Linked DNA regions of Homo sapiens: region 1 is linked to region 2. Evidence: promoter capture Hi-C in 16 types of primary human blood cells and fetal thymus (Javierre and others, 2016). All regions are on one chromosome and are shown on one strand. The core of a region is centred on a gene start or on the middle of the fragment in contact, and the rest is flanking DNA. Distances in the headings are between cores, read along the strand shown. Region 1 overlaps RABEP1 (rabaptin, RAB GTPase binding effector protein 1). Region 2 holds the start of CAMTA2 (calmodulin binding transcription activator 2).

Region 1 (2,932 bases), core at 173-2,672, 370 kb after region 2:
GCGTGAGCTACTGCGCCAGGCCTGTAGTCTGATGTTTTCTTTTTTTTTTTTTGAGACGGAGTCTCGCTCTGTTGCCCAGGCTGGAGTGCAGTGGTGTGATCTCGGCTCACTGCAAGCTCCGCCTCCCGGGTTCACGCCATTCTCCTTCCTCAGCCTCCCAAGTAGCTGGGACTACAGGCACCTGCCACCACGCCTGGCTAATTTTTTGTAATTTTTAATAGAGACGGGGTTTCACCATGCTAGCCAGAATGGTCTTGATCTCCTGACCTTGTGATCTGCCCGCCTCGGCCTCCCAAAGTGCTGGGATTACGGGTGTGAGCCACTGCGCCCAGCCAGTCTGATGTTTTTCAAATGGCCCTCACAACTGTTCTATCCCTAGCCCCTTCCCTCTTCAGTATCACAGCAGCACTGTATATGATACATAGCAGTGGGTGTTAGGGTTATTTGTAAACTAACAGAATGGCTTATCCCAGTTTTTATTAGGATACTTACTTGGGATCTTTGCCATAGTAAGCTTAATATATACGAGATTTGTGTTCTTAGCCATTGCAGTTTCAGATGAGTAACAATCTTTAAAAGGAAAGAAATGGAGGCATTAACTCAAAATTTGTCACCTTTTTATTACACCAAGAATATTTTTAAAACATTAAAAAAAATAGGTTACATGAGCTTGCCAGTAACAACAACTGTATTCCACAGTCTCCTCTGGTTCATTTAAAACAGGGCGTTTAACAACAAAACGTAGAAAGGATATTATCTTAAAACATTGTCATTTAAATGGAATAAATTTAGTTGGAAGGAAAACTTGTTACATTTTTCTTTAAATCATTTTTCTTATTTCCCACTAACTATGCAACTGCTTCATGTAATGGCACTGGTTTGCTTTTTGCCTTCAGGAATGTGCTGTACCACGTTGTTTAAAAATTGAGATAAAATTCATGTAACATAAAATTTAAAGTGTACAATTCAGTGGCATTGCATATATACACAAATGTTTTTAGTTTGAAAACATTTTTATCACTCCCAAAGGAGACCTCATAACCCATTAGAGTCACTCGCCATTTTCCCTTTGCCCTAGCCTCTAGTAACCACTAACTTGCTTTATGGCTCTATGGATTTACTTGTTCTGGACATTTTAAATAGATGGAATTACATAATATGTGACTTTTTGCATCTGCTTTCGCATAGTATACAACATTGAACATGTTGATTACACCTTGCTGGAAAATACCACATTCTTGGGCCGGGTGCGGTGGCTCACGCCTGTAATCCCAGCACTTTGGGAGGCTGAGGTCGGGGGATCACGAGGTCAGGAGAGCGAGACCATCCTGGCCAACATGGTGAAACCCCATCTCTACTAAAAATAGAAAACATTAGCCGGGCGAGGTGGCGGGCACCTGTAGTCCCAGCTACTTGGGAGGCTGAGGCAGGAGAATGGCGTGAGCCCGGGAGGCGGAGCTTGCAGTGAGCGGAGATCGCGCCACTGCACTCCAGCCTGGGCGACAGAGCGAGACTCCGTCTCAGAAAAAAAGAAAATACTACGTTCTCGTCATTTCCTTTCCACTACTCTGGCTTCTCCTTTGCTCATCCCCAAGATGTTAATCTTTCTCAGGGTTCTGCCCTTGGCCCTCTTTGCCTACACACTCATCCTACGTGTTCTGATTTGCTGCTGTGACTTTAATTATCATTATACGATAGTTACTCTCAAGTCTCTATCGAAAGACTTCTGTGTCCCTCTGTCAAGGGAATATCTCTGCTTGGATTCATGATAGGCACCTCGCGCTTGACACACGCCACACTGAATTGCAGGTGACGTTCCTCAACTGTTCGTATTTGGGAGCTCTTTGAGCTACCAGAGCATTCAGCACATAGCTCCAGCCCATCCTTTTATCACAGTATTATAACAGTCTGCTTACTTATCTTTTTTTTTTTTGAAGCCGTATGTATCTCGAGGTCAGGGATTATATCTTGCTCACAGTTGTATCCTGAGGGCCTGGTTTTGTGTCCAGCATGTAGAAATGACACTTAGTGTTTGTTCAATGAGTCTGTGAAGGTAGCACATTAATGATTATCATGTGTAATGAGTGGCGGAATACATTTATTATAGTTTTTGTCTTTAAAAACGCAGAGAATTGTCTAACTTGGCCATATGTATTTTCACATTTCAGGAGCATTTAGACAGCACCCGTGGCTCAGTTCATTCCTTAGATGCAGGCTTGCTGTTGCCATCTGGAGATCCTTTCAGTAAATCGGACAATGACATGTTTAAAGATGGACTCAGGAGAGCACAGTCTACAGACAGCTTGGGAACCTCGGGCTCATTGCAATCCAAAGCTTTAGGCTATAACTACAAAGCAAAATCTGCTGGAAACCTGGACGAGTCAGATTTTGGACCACTGGTAGGAGCAGATTCAGTGTCTGAGAACTTTGATACTGCATCCCTTGGGTCACTCCAGATGCCAAGTGGGTTTATGTTAACCAAAGATCAGGAAAGAGCAATCAAGGCGATGACACCAGAACAAGAAGAGACAGCGTCCCTCCTCTCCAGCGTTACCCAGGGCATGGAGAGTGCCTATGTGTCCCCTAGTGGTTATCGTTTAGTTAGTGAAACAGAATGGAATCTCTTGCAGAAAGAGGTGAGTTACCTTTCTCACGTTTTTCCTCTTGCTCACGCTGAGGCACACTGGGAAGCTCTGGGATTTAGCGTTCATTCAACAGACGGTTCCTGGAGTCAGTGCAGGCACATGTTGCCAGCAAGTGGATATTAACGTGTGTCACCTGACCCTTGTCATAGTCTGCCTTGGGTATTCCAGGTAATTGTGACAGAGAAAGGAGCTAGCTAGTTAATCACAGTGAATGTGAACCTCCCCACCTGAACTCACAGCTCTCAGGTTGGAGCAATCTGCCTGACTAGCATTGCGGAATTTAAGTT
Region 2 (3,208 bases), core at 520-3,019:
CTGGAGGCAGCAGCGGGCAGCGAGGAAGACACTCCAGCAGCTTCTTGGGGAGAAAGATCTTCAGGTGGTGGCTGTTTTCTAAAGGGAATTAGAAGGGAGGGTTTAGTGTGCTACCCTGGGGCATCCCTGTGATAGTCCAAGGGGAAAGGGCTGAAGGCAATACAGAGCACTGGGGAAAACTGAAACCTCACTAAGGAGAACAGAAAATCCAAGAATTAGAGGGCCACTAAAGCGTGGGGAGAACGAAAGGCTGTGGCCACATTGGGAACCTGGTTTGTGAACTTACCAGCAACCTCGGTGGTGTCCTTGGTATTCATGGTGAGGGCTCCAGGGGGCAAGGTCACCCCCGGCCTGAGGGGCCGGGGGGAGGGGGAGTCTGTGCTGGGAAGGGAGAGAACAAGGTCATGGCAGAAGCCCCCACATTAATCCAGGATGAGAAGTATGAGGTAGGGAGTGGGTATAGAACTGGGTCATAGTATCTGGGAAGGATGAGGAAAGGGAGGGAGGGGCTGACTGTGATGTGACAGTAGAAGAGAGAACAACACACAGTGCCCGGAGCCAATATGAGTGAGCAGACTGGACAGGAAGAGTGAGCAGGAAGAAATGGGTTGGGGTGGGGGAGCGGGGAGAAGACTGGCAGGGCTTGGGCCTCAGAGGCCCTAAACCTTGAGCTTTTGCACAGACTGGGGCTATGGTTGGGTCAGGTCCTGGGGGTTGGGACTCAGGCCATCCGGTCCTTGGAGGATGGTTTGGCAAGAGAGCCTGGATCCTGGGGGCAGGGCAGGAGATTCTACCTCCGGTAGAAGCTAGGCCTTTAGAAGACACGCCCTGAGTTCCTTCTCTGTTTGATTTTTCCAAGGGGAAGGGCAGATCTGATAACTGAACCTAACCTATTCTCTCCTCCAGGTTGGTTAGGACCTGATAGAATCTGGGCCAGACACCCAGATTCCCACCCTCAGGACAACCCACCCTCCGGCTGACAGCCCTCTCTACGTAGCTCCCTCTCCCCAAACGCCTCTGCCTCCCCTGGCCTCCAGGCCTAGCCTACCCCATCTACCGCTCTGGCTCCAGCCTGAGCCCCCCGCCCTCCTCGGGGAACAGATGGGAGCTGGCGGAGGCTCTCAGCACGGGCTCCGCCAGGTGTCCAGGATGGAGATGGGAGGAGGCCCGTCGGGCTCGGCTATGTGCAGTGAAGCTGGGGTTGGGGTAAGGACTCCGCCCCAGGGCGCAGGTGCGCAGTCCTGGCTAGGCAGCCTGCCAGGGTGCGGAGCGGGAGCGGGTCCTTGGGCTGCACTTGGGCGGCGCCGGATCGGACGCTTGGCACTCTGGGCGGCCCCCCGGCGGAGTGGTGGTCCCAGGAGAACCTCCGAGGTGGGAGGGTCCCGCCCGCATAGAGGGATGTTCTGGAGAAGCCGGGAGCAGAGTCCGCGGGCACGCGGTGGGCGAGGGACAGTGCAGGTGCCGGGTGCGGGGGTCTCCGGGACAGTCCCCGGCACGCGCTGGTCCGCCGTGGGGCCCTGCGGTGAGCGGCGCCCCCTGGCGCGGGGGAGGAGGACGGAAGCGGGAGGTGAGGGCGAACCGGGAAGAGGGACGGTGGTCCCTGGCGCGGCGCTCCGCGTCGGGACCTGGAGGAGCTGCGCCCTCTGGCGCGGGGGCGGAGAGGCGGGCGAGAGGCCCTGGCTCTTACCTCCCGGGGTCCCGCGGGTGACGGCGGCAGCGGCCATTCTACCCCACACCGACCCCCCCCAGCGCCGGCTGACAGCGGCGTCTAACGTCACTGCGCACGGGGCGGGGCCTCCCAATTAAGGGGATGAGGGTCAGGAAGGGAACCTGGGGTCAGCACACGTGGAGTTCTGGGTGGGGCGCTGGGCAGAGGGACTCGGCTTCTAGGGCTCTGAGCCAGGCCGAGGGACAGACTGCTGGGAAGTCCCCAAAAGGGCAGCAGCACTGAGGGGCAGGATTCCAGGGTCCTGGAGGCGGAAGCTCGGCCGACTGACTCCCAGTTCGAGAGAACGGGGCGGGGGCAGCCCACCAGTGCTGGAACCCGAGGGGCCGGGCGAGGAACGCTGGACTGGGAGCAGGACCCTTCTCGCCTCGGACAAGACTCCTTGTCTGGGGACCCAGCCCGACTTCATTGTAGCTGGGTCCTCGAGAAAGCGAAAGGAGCCCTCCTTCCCCATTGGCCTCTCCATCGCTGCATCCCAAGAAGAAAGACAACTCGGGCTCCACTTGCTTGCTTTTTAATAACAGAGCAGAGAGAATACAAGGCCAGGAGCGGGGCCTGGAGGAAAACAGGACTTGGGGTGCTCCTGTGAGAGCGGTGGGTTGAGATGGGAGCCCACGGGGGCTGTTAATGCCTAGTTCAGAGGATGGGAAAGGCAGTTGGAGAGACGAAGGAAGGGGAAACGCCTTCATGTCAGCAATGAGGGTGACTCTAGTGACGGAACTAGTCTTGGGTCCCTGGGGCACCACTAGCCTCTCGGCATCGGTGGTTTCTCCTTACTCTTCAGACGCTGCCAACTCCATCCCCCAGGGATTGTGAAGGGGGTTCCTTCTGGCTGTGACAGTGCTGAACGAGGCCAGAGAGTGCAGCTGCCTGGAGGCACAAGCCTCCTCCTGATCCAGGGGGCTCCAGGGAGACCAAAGCAGCTGTCAAGATGAGAGAAATTGAAAAAGAAAATGGAAAAGTAGGTCTTCTTTCCAGATTTCCTAGTACCCAAGCTTAGGTACCTCGAAGTCTCTGGTTCTCACCTACGTTATTTTTGTTTCTCTCAAATCCAGCTCTCCAGCCTGGCTCTCAGCTTCTGCATCTCCATGCAAGACCAGAGACCCACATCACTCCCTCACTCCACCCAGTTCCACTCCAACAATACCTGGGCCCTGCCAGGAGTGAGAAAACGGTCCTCTTCCTGTGGATAGGTTGCTCTCTCCTCTTCCAGATCAGGGTATTCATTGGTGCTGGGGAATCCACAGCCCTCTTCGCCAAGCACCACTGGCTCAGATGCAGCCCCAGAGCTGCCCCACTGGGCCTTCTTCAGTCTGTGGAGACTTTAGGCTGAGGAGAGAAGTGCCTGGAGGCCAGGCTTCCTGTCTCTCCATTCTTCACCTTTCTGTTCTGAAATACTTCCTGCTGGGACTCCAGGGAGTTGTCATTTGACCTTTAACCCTCCACTCCCAATTTTCTGCTCCCCTCAGACTGAAGCATATT

The links. The method cuts DNA at HindIII sites, captures the fragments that hold promoters and counts their contacts. A CHiCAGO score of 5 or more calls a contact.
Region 1: a contact is called between a fragment that was not itself captured here and the fragment with the promoter of CAMTA2 in region 2, in 1 of 17 cell types (total B cells). The highest score is 5.0, in total B cells.

Annotation. Positions count from the first base shown.
Region 1 is chr17:5,359,040-5,361,971 of GRCh38, forward strand. It overlaps RABEP1 (rabaptin, RAB GTPase binding effector protein 1), which reads left to right. Exons shown (of 18, transcript NM_004703.6): 9 at 2,169-2,636. LOC105371505 (a long non-coding RNA gene) reads right to left here. Exons shown (of 2, transcript XR_934178.3): 1 at 2,646-2,932; 2 at 1,568-2,045. Among named protein-coding and RNA genes, the nearest start is that of NUP88, 59 kb to the right of the region's middle. RefSeq lists an enhancer at 2,843-2,932. The HindIII fragment of the contact is 1,820 bases long and covers 513-2,332 here.
Region 2 is chr17:4,985,906-4,989,113 of GRCh38, forward strand. It overlaps CAMTA2 (calmodulin binding transcription activator 2), which reads right to left and starts at 1,770. Exons shown (of 23, transcript NM_015099.4): 1 at 1,688-1,770; 2 at 287-381; 3 at 1-78. The coding sequence starts at 317. It overlaps INCA1 (inhibitor of CDK, cyclin A1 interacting protein 1), which reads right to left. Exons shown (of 7, transcript NM_001394789.1): 6 at 2,874-3,039; 7 at 2,225-2,649. The coding sequence ends at 2,500. It overlaps CAMTA2-AS1 (CAMTA2 antisense RNA 1), which reads left to right and starts at 1,839. Exons shown (of 3, transcript NR_187235.1): 1 at 1,839-2,320; 2 at 2,511-2,687; 3 at 2,782-3,208. RefSeq lists a silencer at 1,250-1,789. The HindIII fragment of the contact is 15,391 bases long and covers 1-2,719 here.